3 separate regions of the Homo sapiens genome follow, and all the other regions are linked to region 3. Evidence: promoter capture Hi-C in 16 types of primary human blood cells and fetal thymus (Javierre and others, 2016). All regions are on one chromosome and are shown on one strand. Each heading gives the region's core, a stretch centred on a gene start or on the middle of the fragment in contact. The rest is flanking DNA. Distances are from core to core; before and after follow the strand shown.

The links. The method cuts DNA at HindIII sites, captures the fragments that hold promoters and counts their contacts. A CHiCAGO score of 5 or more calls a contact.
Region 1: a contact is called between a fragment that was not itself captured here and the fragment with the promoter of PKDREJ in region 3, in 5 of 17 cell types (neutrophils, megakaryocytes, M0 macrophages and 2 more). The highest score is 10.6, in neutrophils.
Region 2: a fragment that was not itself captured here is called in contact with the fragment with the promoter of PKDREJ in region 3 in 1 of 17 cell types (neutrophils); the score reaches 5.1 in neutrophils.

The regions. Positions count from the first base shown.
Region 1 is chr22:46,002,777-46,007,781 of GRCh38, forward strand. It overlaps the pseudogene LOC730668. Among named protein-coding and RNA genes, the nearest start is that of WNT7B, 28 kb to the left of the region's middle. RefSeq lists an enhancer at 3,501-4,492. The HindIII fragment of the contact is 8,534 bases long and covers 1-5,005 here.
Region 2 is chr22:45,986,457-45,991,139 of GRCh38, forward strand. No RefSeq gene overlaps it. Among named protein-coding and RNA genes, the nearest start is that of WNT7B, 12 kb to the left of the region's middle. RefSeq lists enhancers at 404-904, 905-1,405. The HindIII fragment of the contact is 8,373 bases long and covers 1-4,683 here.
Region 3 is chr22:46,261,314-46,266,317 of GRCh38, forward strand. It overlaps PKDREJ (polycystin family receptor for egg jelly), which reads right to left and starts at 2,030. Exons shown (of 1, transcript NM_006071.2): 1 at 1-2,030. The coding sequence starts at 2,009. The HindIII fragment of the contact is 7,014 bases long and covers 438-5,004 here.

The sequences.
Region 1 (5,005 bases), core at 280-2,779, 260 kb before region 3:
TGGAGGGCTTCCGGGCAACAGTGCAGCCCAAACAGAGTGGGCCTTGGCCAGAGGTGGACAAAGCCAGATGCTGAGGGTGGGGTGGGCACAGCGAGAGGCAGCCACACTAGCTGCTCCCGCTGGGCCAGGCCTGGTGGATGGTGTCATCCTCCCTCACATTCCTGGATCTCAGGGACACCACTTCCCCAGGCTCAAGCAGCTGAGTCATGAGTGTCCTCCCTTCAGGGGACCCAGCCATTGGCTTGGGTAGATTAGTTCTGATTTAACCCCAAAATAATGACTTAGTGGCTTTCCTAACTGCAGCCAGCTTTGCAGGGCCTCCGAGCTTTCAGGCCACCTCCCCTCCCAGATGCCCTTGAGCTGGACCTGAGAAGACCCGCCCAGAGGAAGGCGAGGAAGACTCCACAGGGGTGACAGGGGCCCAGACACCCCCTATCTGCATCAGGACCCATGTGAGCAGAGCTCACCCTGTTGTCGCCCTGGGCACTGTGGCCATCTGCCAAGGGACAGATAGATGGACCTTCCTAGTCCTCAGGCCTCAGGCCATCCACAGGGTAAACCCACATCCACCCACATCTCCTGGAGCCTCCCCCGCCTGGGAATGGGAGCGAATGACCCCATCACACTGGTCTGATGGATGAGTGAGCAGCACCCAGGAGGCCGGACGCGGGAGGCTTGGCCTGGCCGGCAGGGAGTGGGCGCCCTGGGCTGGGACCGGGTTTCCTGCTCCCCTCTGTCTAGGCTTTTCCTGGGGGACCTGGCCTTGGAGGCCAGCGCCTGAGGGCCCCGCAAGACAGTCAGTCTTGCTGTCACTCCCAATGCCATCTTGTGTCCCCTCTCCCCAGACCCCTCTGCTCTGGGAGACTGGTGAGTGAACACCTCGTGAGGTGCATCCTGTGTGGGCAGGATTCCGACCAAGTGCTCCGACGTGGAAGGAAAGAATGCACACTCAGGCAATCTGGGTGTGACCACCTTGCTGTCCTGCGATCTAGGGGATGAGAGGAGGTGACAAGGCCCAAGGGGGTCATGCCGCAGACATGCCCAGGCCCGGCCTGTGTGGTCAGCTGAGGGTCCTTTAGCTGCCCGTCTACTGTCCTCAGGTAGGATGCCTCGTGCTGGGAGCCAGGCCGCCCAGCACCCTTCCAGCCTCTGCTGACTCCAGCTGTGTGTCGTCGGGCATCTTACTCAACCTCTCTGTTTCTTGTCCTTCTGCGCCTAGGGTCATGATAGACCTTGCTTCCCAGCAAGCATGGAAGAGGCTGCGAAGAACAGCTGGTGCCCAGGAAACTGGGAAGCCCTGGCTAGGTCTCAGTGCTGTGGCTGCTGGTGTTCACACCATGGGCCAATGCTAGGGATTCACAGAGGCAGGGGATGGGGTCCCTGCTCCAGGGTTCTCCCAGTCTGAGGGGCAGACATGTGACTGATGTCAACTCTCCTGGGTGGCCTGGGGTGAGAGAGAGTGACTCATCCCTGGGTGCCTTGGGGACGGTGGCCCTAGGAGGGGACTCCCCTGGCCCTGAAGAGTTGTGTGGCATCCCAGGTAGAGGGGCTGGAGGGGTAAAGCCCACCGCCATGCTCCGAGCACGCTGAGGGCTTGGTGTGAGAGTGTGGTGGATGTGGGTTGGGTGGGCTGCGAGGCCTCCAGCCTCCCACCTGCCTGCCTTTATTGATTTCCAGGGATTCAGGACCTCAGACGCTGGGCCGGTGACAGGCCCCTGGGATTCTGGTCGCAGTCCAAAGGGTCTCTGGCCACCCTGGGCCTGATCAAGTCCTCCCTCTATCTGGATCTATTTCTCCGTCACCAAAAGTTGGCACTTGGGTTTAGTGGCTGACAGCCCTTCTGATTCTAACAGGAAGTGGCTCTGCAGGGTTCCGTCACGCACGCGCTGTGCTGGGGGTCCAGGAGAGGGCTCTAGGAGTCGGACGGTTGGTGGGGGAGGATGGAGTCTGGCTGCAGAGCCCAAGCATGTTTTGTGGGGGCCCGGCGGGTGAAGGGTGTCACAGCGATGGAGGTGCAAGGTGATAGATGAGAGAGGCAGTCCCAGCACAGGAACCCAAGCAGGCAGCACCTGCATGGCATGGCTCTCCCGCCCTCCATTCGCGGGGCGGCCTCCCATCCTCCATTCTGATGGTGACATTGAAAATGAAACGCCAGGACCCCAGCACCTGCATGGTGTGGCCCTTCCGTCCTCCATTCTTTTTTCTTTTACTTTTTTCTTTTTTTTTTTTTTTTTGAGACAGAGTCTTGCCCTGTCGCACAGGTTGGAGTGCAGTGGTGTGATCTCAGCTCACTGCAACCTCCGCCTCCCGAGTTCAAGCGATTCTTCTGCCTCATTCTCCCAAGTAGCTGAGACTACAGGCACCTGCCACCATGCTTGGCTAATTTTTGTGTTTTTAGGAGAGACGGGGTTTCACCATGTTGGCCAGGCTGGCCTCGAACTCCTGACCTCAGGTGATCCGCCTGCCTCGGCCTCCCAAAATGCTGGGATTACAGGCATGAGCCACCACGCCCGGCCTCCATCCACCCTTCTGATGGTGACATTGGAAATGCCAGGACCCCAGGGGTTCAGGTGGCCAACCCAGCTTCCAATCCACCCGTGTAGCCCCATGTGCCATGCCTTGGGTAGGTTGCCAGGGTTCTGAGCCTCTCCCTCCTTGTGTGAAAGCCCCTCTCCTGGATCTGGGCAGAGGGTGTGCACAGCCTCTGGAAGTGGCCTGGCGGGCGTGGGGGCTCAGTGAGCACAGGGCCTGGGCTTGCAGGTGAAGCCCGAGGAGGTGGTATGGCTCCACCTGGCTGCCCTGGGGACCCAAGGTGCGGGCATGGGCACTGGCCCTCTGCCCCAGGAGAACGGCTGCCGGCCTTGACATCTTGGCGCCTCCCCCGCTCCCTCAGCCCTGTCCCCTGCACCTAGGGCCCTGTAGGGGCATCCCAAACTGGCACCTTATTCCCGTGAACTGGGCCCTTCTCTTCAGTTTCCCTCAGTTAGGAAGCCAGGTCCCGTCTTTCTTTCTTTCTTTTTTTTTTTTTTTTTTTGAGACAGTCCAGCTCTGTCGGCCAGGCTGGAGTGCAGTGGCATGATCTCAGCTCACTGCAACCTCCATCTCCTGGGCTCAAGCAATTCTCCTGCCTCAGCCTCCTGAGTAGCTGGGATTACAGGTGTGTGCCACCATGCCCAGCTAAGTTTTGTATTTTTAGTAGAGACAAGGTTTCACCACGTTGGCCAGGCTGGTCAAGAACTCCTGACCTCAGGTAATCCGCCCGCCTCGGCCTCCCAAAGTGCTGGGATTACAGGCGTGAGCCACTGTGCCCGGCCACCAGGTCCCATTTTAGTGACCACCCCCACACCCCGAAGAATAATAAGCCTCGACCTTCCCCACCCACTCCTCCCCTCCTAGAGCCTGAAGCCCCAGGTGGCTGTTGACTGGAGGGGAGGGGAGCACTTTCCACTGGAATATCTGACTTCAAACCTCTCCGGCCCCAGCTTCCTGCAGGCTCTGCCCCCTGAAACTGACAACCCAGCTGTGAAGCGGCAAACATGATCATCCCTCTCTTGTGTGTGGGAGGGGTGAAGATTCAATGAAATATCACAAGTGACACTCTCACCCAGGGCTCCCAGAGAGGGTGGCCCCAGCCCTACGACACCCATGGCCCCAGGGGAGCTCATGACTTTGAGGGTGTCGGTGACCCTGGGGGTGCCCTGGCTCTGGACTGGGCCACCATGTGTCACTGCAGCCACCAGGGGGCAGCAGAGGGGAGCTGTTCTGCTTTCAGGAGCTGGTGCCTGTGCTTCCTGCAAGGAGGGGGGACAAGAAGGCCCCCGGGGTCACTCGAGGCCAGCAGAGGAGTCCAGACTCCGATCCCAGCTCCACTGCTGCCTCCCGCACGCCTGGAGCCAGCCCGGCCCTCATCTGTGCACGCAGGGTGTGCTGCACCCCACCAGGCATCTCCAACTCGGAGATTCAGCTGCAGCCCTGGCCGTCAGACCCACGGGCCCTGAAGTCCAGGGGGCCCTCTCGCCCGCCTCCTGTCTGCAGATGGGGAAATTGAGGCCCAGCCAGGGCAGGGGATTTGCCGACGTTTCGCAACAAATTCGAGTCAGAAATAGGCCCAGCTGGGCCTGCCGGCGCGGAGGCCCGCTCGGGACACTGCTGGCCAACGCAGGGCCCAGCACGGTCCCAGTCACACCCACAGCAGGGTCCTGCCAGCCTTCTCCGCTCTCCCCTGGGGGAAGTGACCCTCCTCCACCTCCCAGAGCCCACGTGAGTCCGCAGGAGGCCCCCCTGGGCCAGGTGCCAGGTGCCGAGTGGCTGCCTCCAACTCGGGGGCTGCTATGCAAGGATGTTTCCAGTTCTCCGGGTCCTTCCTTCCACCTGGGAGGTCCGGGGCTGCCGGGCCATGCTGGTCCCTGTGGCCCTAGGGCCCGCCCAGCGCAGGGCCTGGCAGGGAGAGGGGGAAACGTGGGTGAGGGAAGTGAGTCACCCCTTGGGACACTTCCCTGCTCAGTTCCTGCCTCTCAGCAGCTTCTGCGAGGCAGGTCACACCTGCAGGGGAGCCTGGCAGCGCTAGGAGAGGCAAGGGGTGGGGGTGCCGCCTTTTCATGGGGCCAAGAGGGGCCCTGAGAGGGACACCGGGTGGACAGCCCCAGGGGCCTCCTTGCTCGGCCAGCCGGCATCTCCCCCTGCTCCCAGCATAGGAGGGCCGGTGGCCTGAGTGCTCTGCTCCGTGCCCGGAAAAGACTCATGTTCCAGGAAAAAGCCGCTTGGCAGGTCGGAGCAAGCTCATGGTGCTGTTCCCAGACCCGATGCGATGCGTGTGGAGGGAGGCCTGCCCTTGCCCCCAGGGCTGCAGGGCGAGAACAGACCTTGATTCCTGCTATAACCCTGGGCACGGCCTCTGTTTCTCCGCGTGTGCCCGGGGGCGGCGTGTTCTCAGGGCAGGGGCCTCTAAGGATCAGAGTGAGGCTGCAGGCCCAGGCTGAGGCCTGCACCACCTCGGCCGGGAGAT
Region 2 (4,683 bases), core at 340-2,839, 280 kb before region 3:
TAAAACAAACACAGGAGGGCTTGGCCATGTGGCGATGGGGAGCAGAAGTTGAAATGATGGAGCCCTGTGAGCAATGGCTCCTGGAGGCCCAGCAGGTTATGGAGCAGAGGAAAGGGGGAGGCAAGGGCACACGCACAGACAGCCGGAGTGCCAGGCTAAGGAGCAGGACGTTACTTATGGTCACTGGGGAGCTACTGAAGATTTTGAGAGAGGGGGGCACCAGAGGTGGGCCCTGGATGGAGTGTCCCCAGCTTGCCTGACCAGCCAATTTTTAGCATTACCACAGGCCCACTTCTCCGAAATATCTCAGGGAAGGGGCTAGGAATCTGAATGTTTAATCAACACCCAGGTGGCTCCAGAGATCAAGCACAATTGGCAAATGATAGTTCTGGCAAACGTGTAAACTGCAGAAAGTTCCGTGGGAAGGTCCACACCCCAAGTCCTCTCAGTGTACACCCTGAGCCCCTAGGGGGTTCCCAGCCCTTGCCAAGGGAGGTGGAGGGCTCCTAGGGGAGAAGCAGTCCCTCCCAGGAGGGACAGAGTCCCCACTGGGGATGGGGAGCAGGGGCCACCTGGGGAGGAGGCTGCGGGCGTCAGATGATTTCCAGCAGGAGCCTGTGTGTGCCCACCAGGACCCCTCATCCAGAGAAGGGCAGACAGAGCTCTGGCATTTCTGGAGGGAGAATGAGGAGCCCCCAAAGGCAAATCCAGGAGCTTGACCCAATTCAGGGCAGAAGCTAAGGGATATCCAAGAGCCCAGGGAGCAGAAGGAGGGGGTGAGCACCAGTGACGGCAGTGGCTGCTCCAAGATGGCCTCCCACTGCCATCACACAGACTGCAGCAGGGAGGCATGGCCAGGGCCGCATACTCCATGGAGCAGGCCGGAGCCCCACCCTCCTAGGTGGGGCTGCAGCCGCCCAAATTGTGGCTGCAGATCTGAGCATCCCTGTGCTCTTGGGACAGGAGCAGGCAAGAGCCCTACCCTCCCAGGCACAGCTGCAGCCACCAAAACTGTAGCTGCAGACTCAGGAATTTCTGCACTCAGGGACCTGGGAAGGCCCCCACTGCCCTTGCAGGCTTGGAAGTGCCTGTTCCCACTGCCTGGCTTTTCCCTGCCGTCAGTGCCTGCTTTGATCTCAAAGCAAAGTCAGGGCCAAGCCCTGGTGCCATGAATGGCAGCAGGAGGCAGGCACATTCCTGGGAGGAAGGGGACGGGTCCCCCGTGAGGCTCCACCTTTAGGGCCAGGGAGGGCCTGAAGGCTGGAGGCTGGGCTTCCAGTCCCACCAACCTGAATGGGAATTTGTGGTGCCTTTTCTGGGCCTGCCCATGGCTACCCATGGACCAATCTGCATGCACTTTCTCCCCTCTGAGGCCCATAAAAACCCTGGGCTCAGCCAGAGCTGAGCAGATTACAAGTTGATCAGCTGCTGAGAGGAGCTACCCTCTCTGCTGAGAGCTTCAGAGACCTGAGGAGATGTCAGAATAACCTGCCTGCAGAGAGGCACTACCCTCTCTGGGGCTTCCTCTCTGCGGAGAGCTGAACACTCGATGGGACAACCTGCCTAGAAAGAGGAGCTACCCACTGCAGGTCTCCTCTGAGCTGTTCTAATACTCAATAAAGCTCCTCTTTGTCTTGCTTACCCTCTACTTGTCTGCATACCTCATTCTTCCTGGATGCAGGACAAAAACTCAGGCAAAGACGCCACTGGTCACAGAGGTTTCCAGCTAAAAAGACGACACCCAAAAGATCCTGTAACACCAGGAGCTAGCATGGGTTCACTGGGAATGAAATGTGTAGGCTCCCTGTGACTTCTGACCTCTGTGAGGGTCATGAACCCAGGAGGTGAGGCATTTGACAGGGAGGCTCGGGACTGCCTCATAGACAAACTCACATCACATCTTCTATGTTAAAACAAATGCTCTGTGTCTCTAACAAAAGTCCTCTCCAGGACCAGGAGAGCTGAGGTCAGGCTGCCCAGCACATCCAGCTGCACCTTGACCAAAACTCCAGGCTGCCTGAGCCTGGCAGTCAGCCGAGAGAGGAGGTGATGAGGGCCAGGTGTGCTGAGTGAGGCTGAGGCAGGGGCGAGCCCCCATCTCTGCAGATGAGGATCTGGAGTCCAGGTGAGGCCTGGTCTGCGCTTGTCCATGAACCCCTTCCTCGGTAGGAGAGCCAAGGACCTGAGTCTGGAGAGGGATGCTCCTGGCCCTCCCTGACCCCAACATACAATCACTCCTCGCCTGTGGCAACCGACCAGCACCGCCCTGATGGGGCAGCTCCAGGACCCTGGCTAAGCTGGGTTTGCTGGTGGGCAAAAGCAATGTGCCCTGGGCAGTCCTTTACCTCCTCCTTCCATGAGGGTCACTTTGACCTCCACCCTGCACTGATGACTGCTGGTGGAAGATCCAGGTTTGAGCTTTGAGGGAGGAGGAGGGAAGGCCCTTTCCAGTGCCTCCCACCACAGAATGAAGAGTCCTTTGATTTCCTGCTTGAGTCCCCCATGGGGAGAAGATGGATGCCCAAGGCTGAATCTGAGCCTTCCAGAGTTCCCTGCATAAAGCCCACCCTCTAAAAGTGCCACGACCCAGTGGGACTAACCTAGCACATGATGCCAGAGTGCCCAGCACCCAGGGCTGAGGCTGGGTTAGGCCACAAAGGCCACCGAAAGCCAGGCCACCATTTGGACCTCATCCTTCTAGGCAAGGGCCCGACACCGAGCACTCAGCTGCCTGTCTCCGCTGGGGCTTCTTGTGGCTGCACCATGGGCATTCAGGGCAGGATCGTTCCCTGTGGTGGGGACCGTCTGTGCCCGGTAGGATGTTCAGCAGCGTCTCTGGCCTCTGCCCACTAGACGCTTTTAGCACACAGCATCCCCTGAGGTATGACAACAAAACGTATCCCCAGACATTGCCAAATGTCTCCCGGGGAGCAGAATTGGCTCCAGTTGAGAACCACTGGTCTAAGATATGAGCGTTGGACTTTTTGGTGTGGAGGACCCAGATTCTATTCATCCTGTTTCGTGGACACCCCCAGGACAGGGACCGGGTGGCCAGGCTTAAGCTGAGCCACAGGCACATCTGAGCTCCTGCTTGCAGGAATCAGAACAGCCCAAATAAACAATTTCGTTTTAAGCAAACCTGCAGCCACGATCCTACCTGTCAGGGTGATCTCCTGAAAGTCATGGGGTGTCTGTTTTAGTCTTGGGCACCAAGAGTCACAGCCCCAGGGCTGACCACTGATGGCATCGACGCCTGGAAACTGGCCTGCTTCCCCCACACCACACAGGACCCATGAACGACCAAGAACCACTGATCTGGTCTGAACCTCTTGCTTTAAGGGTGGGAAGGCCGAGACCCAGGGAGGCTGCCAGGGTCACACAGTCATCAAGCAGGGGTTTGAGCCCCAGCATGCTAGCCCCAGGAGCCAGGAACTCTGGTGCTGACAGTGGGGTTCCCCAGGGCTGTTTCGCCATCTCCTACTGGGTGACTACAGCTGGCAGATCTGGCATCAGACCCACGGCCTGGGGTCCCTGGCTGGACCATACAATCTTCCTTCCCTGCAGGGGCCGCCTAGGGAGGTTGGCACACAGACCTGGACTCCTTAGCCCCTCTCCACAGGGGTCCCCATTTCAGCCTGAGAATGCACACAGGCCATCAGGAGGCAGTGGCCAGGGCGTGAGGGTGGGCTCCAACCCAGGCCCAGAAAATGCCTTCATAGCTGTAAGGCTATACAGCTGCGGAAGACTTCGGGCAACAGCTCAGACTGAGTCCAATTCGAACCCGGGCCTTCCGTGTACACGCCGTGGGATTCGGGCAAATCATTCCTCTCCAGGACACCTCAACCAAAGGTGTGAATGTCCACATCACCGGGAGGTTTAAGGAGGTAACACCATCTACCCAGCAGGGTGCTGGGGGGCCTCCTCGGGAGCTGTCACAGCTGATCCTGGGTCCACAGTGAACAGAAAGTGGGTGTTGGGGGCAGAGTCTGGAGACGGGGACAGTGGACCACCAGGCTCTGTGACCCCGAGCCTCAGCTTCCCCATCTGTGAAAGGACACCCAGCACCTTGATCTGTGGGCGCATGAAGCCCTAAGTGAGGGCCTGGCACACGCTAAGTGTTCAGCTCAACCAGCGAGTCACACTAACTGCGGAGACCAGGGCATTGCCAGGATTACTGGAGTTTGAAGGCCACATTTGCAGTGATCCCACCTGGGCTGGGGCTGATTGCTCTTCAGAGTTGCTGTGCCCAAAGGAGGGAGCAGATGGCACGTCAGGGAGGCAGCCCAGCCGTCACCCCCTTCAGGTGGGCAGCCAGGGTCCCTAGGGAGGCGCTAGGTGGAGGGCATAGGTGAGACACCCCATGGAAGCAGGCAGTAAGAAAGTCCAGGCCAAGGCCAGGGACAGGGCCTAACCTCTGAGACAGTGGGTCCTGCCCATGTACCCTATTTCCTGGCTGCCTGAGACCACAAAGAGCTGCAGCTCCCGAACACTCCCCACTTCTAATGCACTCTTAGCTGTACCCTGAGTGCAGCATCCTGGGCCACCTCTCAGCGCTTGAGGTGCCTTTGCCCTCCCTGCCTGGTGGGAAATGGGTACATACAAGTCCCTGGCAAAAGGAGGGGCTGGGGCTTTTATAACACTCTTTTCAGGAACTGGAGCCAACATACAAAGATTTTGAGGGGT
Region 3 (5,004 bases), core at 780-3,279:
GGAGCCTGTGCGGTGGCATGCAAAGTCACCTGAGAAAAAGCTCCTAGAGAATCATAGACCTGGGCATATATCTTCAAGCCATATTGACTAGCCAACATACCAACAGGGAGAAAGGAAGGGGGTACTGTGGACTGAGGCCCCAAGTACAGGATGGTCCCCAGGGTGTTCTCTTTTACTGAACTGATTTCACCAACACTGTGCAAATCAGAAACAATTATTTTATATGTAAGAGGGACGTGCTTATCCCTAAAATTACTACACTGGACAACAAATTTAGTAATAAGTGCAATTCCTTTAGCTGGATTAATTTTGCATTCTCCGATCTGAGGGCCATGGTTAATAATAAAAGAATGCCTGAAGACCGAGGTCACTCCACTCCAACATGCTAGATACAGAGAAATCGAAAACTCAGCTTCCAAAAAATGCCGAAAAGCAAAAGCTTTTATAGACAGATAAGCACCATTCCTTCCTGTTACAGTTTCCCCCATCCAATCAAATAGCATCTCACCACCTGAAGAAGACAAAATTGACCATTTATAGAAATCACGGCTTGCACAATTTGTGCAATTTAGGAACAAAGAAAATCTATCAGAGACAATGAAGTTTCTCTCACAATTTTCGATACATGTGATGTGTGCTATGGCTTTTGGTCCTTGGAGCACGTGGACCCTCTTATCAGAAAACGCTGTCCTAGAGTCCTTCCGAATCACCATTCTGAAGAAATACACGTGGTCGCCTTTAAGTGTTTCTGGCAAAAGTGTCAGTACAGGGCCCGAGGCCCAGGGCCATTTCAGATTGGCCTGCTCGGGGTGACAGACTTCCTTGCTCCCCAGGATTATTCGATCCCCACCGTAGTTTCTGGGATCTGTGGTACAGTACCAAAAGAACTGGAGTCCCTGTAACGGGCTGTCCGCATCTGGGTCCGAGGACGTGGACCCGTCCAGAATCAGCTGCTCTGTGAAATTAGCTGTTATGTTGGCATCGCCAAGCATCACCGCCTGCAGGGAACTCCTGACGATCCAGACATAGACGGCGTCCGAGTCTTTCACCTCGGGCATCTTGGGGTTCCCTGTGGTGATGGACACCGTGAAATTAAACACATACACTCCCCACTGTAACGAATTATTGGGGATGTGAATGAACAAGGGGCTGTTCCTGATCTCGAGCTGGGGCAGATCCAAGGGCTGCGTCCAGTCGGGCGCCTGACCCACGGCGGGCACGGAGAACACCTGCCAGTACTGGGCGATGGCGCGCGCGGCCGGGCAGTCCAGCTGCACCGAGGCGTTGATGGTGGCCTCCGCCTGCATGCTCAGGCGCACGGGGGCGCCCTTCTGGTCCGTGTTGATCCTCACGCGCTGGATGACGCAGGCGTTTATCTGACAGGACACGGACGACTCGACGGCTCTGTGGCTGGACGAGTTGACGGCCTGCAACATCACGCGCGCGGGGCCGTCTGTGGGGCACTCGGTGCGGGCCACGAAGCCCTGCTGGGGCCGCGGGCCTGGCGCGGCGGAGCGCGGGGAGACGCGGGCCGCGGGGGAGGCCGGGCGGGCGGCGCCGGGTCCGAGCAGCCGCAGGCGGAAGGCCCAGGCCAGGCGCCCGGGCGAGCGCGGCAGCCGCACGGACCACGTCAGGGAGAGGCGGCCGCCGCGCGCGGAGAGCTGCAGGTCGACGAGCGCGAGCGCGGGCGCGGCCGGCCAGGGCAGGCGTTGGGCGCTGAGCAGGACGCGCAAGTCGAGGCAGTACCAGCGCCGCCCGGTCCCGCCATGGGGGAAGCAGAGGCTGCCGCGGCCGCTCAGGACAGCGCCGCCCGCCCGCACCGCGCTGGGCCGCAGACTGAGGAGGGCGCGGCCGCCGCGCACCCCGAGGCCCGGGGCGCCCCTGAGGAGGCCACCGGGCGCCCCGGAGACGGCGGCTTGTGCCCCGCGAGGAACCGGCGGCAGCGGGAGGCGGCCGACGCTCAGGCTCAGGCCCACGCCCAGAAGGAGGAGAGCGGGCCCAGGCCTCATGGCGCCGGCCCAGGAGAAGCTGGGAGAGGCCGCGAGGCGCGCCCAACCGCCACCGGGGTCGCGGGGATAGTGAGGGTCTTGGGGACAGTGGGGGTCTCGGGCGTCGAAGGGCGCTGGCAGAGGGGTCCCAGGGACAGAGTCCCAGAGAGCAGCTGGGACCTCGGAGCTTGGGGTCAGTCGGCACTGGGGACTTCTTGGGTACCTCTTCCCTCTCCGTCCCCAAGTGTGTGCAGGCCCAGGGTCAGGATGGCTCAGGAGGGCAGTTCAGCCCCGTGCAGACCACAGAGCTGACCACGGAGAAGGGGCTTCAGCAGGAACCCTTGGGAAAGCCAGTCACAAAATGGGAGATCAGGAGGGAACCGTGAGATCCCTGGGCGCCCAGGAAGGTCTGACTCTCGGTTTCTTACTTTGGGGTCGCTTTGCTCTTTTCTTTCTAGTTGGTTTGGGGGTTTTGTTTTTTGTTTGTTTGTTTGTTTGTTTGTTTTTTGAGACGGAGTCTCTGTCACCCAGGCTGGAGTGCAATGGCTTGACCTCAAGTGATCCACCCACCTCGGCCTCCCAAAGTGCTGGGATTACAGGCATGAGCCACTGTGCCTGGCCTCATTCTTTAACTCTGTCCATTTTTGCTGTATATTTTGGGACTTGATTGATGGATTGAATGATTTTAGAGACAGGGTCTTGCTCTGTTGCCCAGGCTGGAGTGCAATGGTGCAATCATAGCTGACTGTAACCTTGAACTCCTGGGCTCAAGGAATCCTCCTGCCTCAGCCTCCCATACTACAGGTCTACACCACTACACCTGACTGATTTATTTTTTATTTTTGTAGAGATGGTGTCTTGCTGTGTTTCACAGGCTGGTCTCAAACTCGTGGTCTTAATTGGCCCTCCCCTGTATTAGTCCGTTTTCATGCTGCTGATAAAGACATAACCAAGACTGGGAAGAAAAAGAGGTTTAATTGGACTTACAGTTCCATATGGCTGGGGAGGCCTCAGAATCATGGCAGGAGGCAAAAAGCACTTCTTGCATGGCAGTGGCAAGAGAAAATGAGGAAGACGCAAAAGCGGAAACCCCTGATAAAAGCATCAGATCTCCTGAGACTTATTCACTACCACAGAACAATATGGGGGAAACTGCCCCTGTGATTCAGTTATCTCCCACCCGGTCCCTCCCACAACATGTGGGAATTATGGGACTATAAGATGAGATTTGGGTGGGGACACAGAGCCAAACTATATCATTCCACCCCTGCCAAATCTCATCTCCTCACATTTCAAAACCAATCATGCCTTCCCAACAGTCCTCCAAAGTCTTAACTCATTTCACATTAACTCAAAAGTCCACAGTCCAAAGTCCTGTCTGAGACAAAGGAAGTCGCTTATGCTTATGAGCCTGTAAAATCAAAAGCAACTGGCTGGGCGCAGTGGCTCACCCTGTAATCCCAGCACTTCGGGAGGCTGAAGCGGGCAGATCACCTGAGCTTGGGAGTTTGAGACCAGCCTGACCAACATGGAGAAACCCCATCTCTACTAAAAATACAAAATTAGCCGGGTGTGGTGGTGCATGCCTGTAATCCCAGCTACTCGGGAGGCTGAGGCAGGAGAATCGCTTGAACCCGGGAAGCAGAGGTTGCGGTGAGCCAAGATCGTGTCATTGCACTCCAGCCTGGGCAACAGGAACGAAACTCTGTCTCAAAAAACAGAAAAAAAATCAAAAGCAAGTTAGTTATTTCCTAGATACAGTGGGGTACAGACATTGGGTAAAGACAACCATTCCAAATGGGAGAAATTGGCCAAACAAAGGAGTTATAGGGCCCATGCAAGTCTGAAATCCAGTGGGGCAGTCAAATCCTAAAGCTCCAAAATTATCTCCTTTGACTTCATGTCTCAAATCCAGCTCATGCTGATGCAAGAGGTGGGTTCCTATGGTCTTGGGCAGCTCCGCCCCTGTGGCTTTGCAGGGTACAGCCTCCCTCCTGGTTGCCTTCGTGGGCTGGTGTTGAGTGTCTGCAGCTTTTCTAGACTCATGGTGCAAGCTGTTGGTGAATCTACCATTCTAGGGTCTGGAGGATGGTGGCCCTCTTCTCACAGCTCCACTAGGCGGTGCCCCAGTAGGGACTCTGTGTGGGGGCTCTAACCCTACATTTCCCTTCCACACTGCCCTAGCACAGGTTCTCCATGAGAGCCTTCCCCCTACAGTAAACTTCTGCCTGGCATCCAGGTGTTGCCATATATCTTCTGAAATCTAGGCAGAGGTTCCCAAACCTCAATTCTTGACTTCTGTGCAACTGCAGGCTCAACACCACATGGAAGCTGCCAAGGCTTGGGGCTTGCAATCTCTGAAGCCACAGCCCGAGCTCTACATTGGCCTTTTTCAGCCACAGCTGGAGCAGCTGGGACACAGGGCACCAAATCCCTAGGCTGCACACAGCTTGGGGACCCTGGGCCCAGCCCACAAAACCACTTTTTCCTCCTGGGCCTCCAGGCCTGTGATGGGAGGGGCTGCCATGAAGACGTCTGACATGCCCTGGAGACCTTTTCCCCATTGTCTTGGGGATTAACATTTGGCTGCTTGTTATTTATACAAATTTCTGCAGCTGGTTTGAATTCTCCTCAGAAAATGGAATTTTCTATCACATTTTCGGTCTGCAAATTTTTCAAACTTTTATGCTCTGTTTCCCTTTTAAAACCGAATGCTTTTAACAGCATCCAAGTCACTTCTTGAATGCTTTGCTGCTTAGAAATTTCTTCTGCCAGATACCCTAAATCATCTCTTTCAAGTTCAAAGTCCCACAAATCTCTAGGGCAGGGGCAAAATGCTGCCAGTCTCTTTGCTAAAACATAACAAGCATCACCTTTGCTCCAGTTCCTCATCCCCATCTGAGACCACCTCAGCCTGTACCTTATTGTCCATATCACTATCAGCATTTTGGGCAAAGCCATTCAACAAGTATCTGGGAAGTTCCAAAATTTCCCACATACTCCTGTCTTCTGAGCC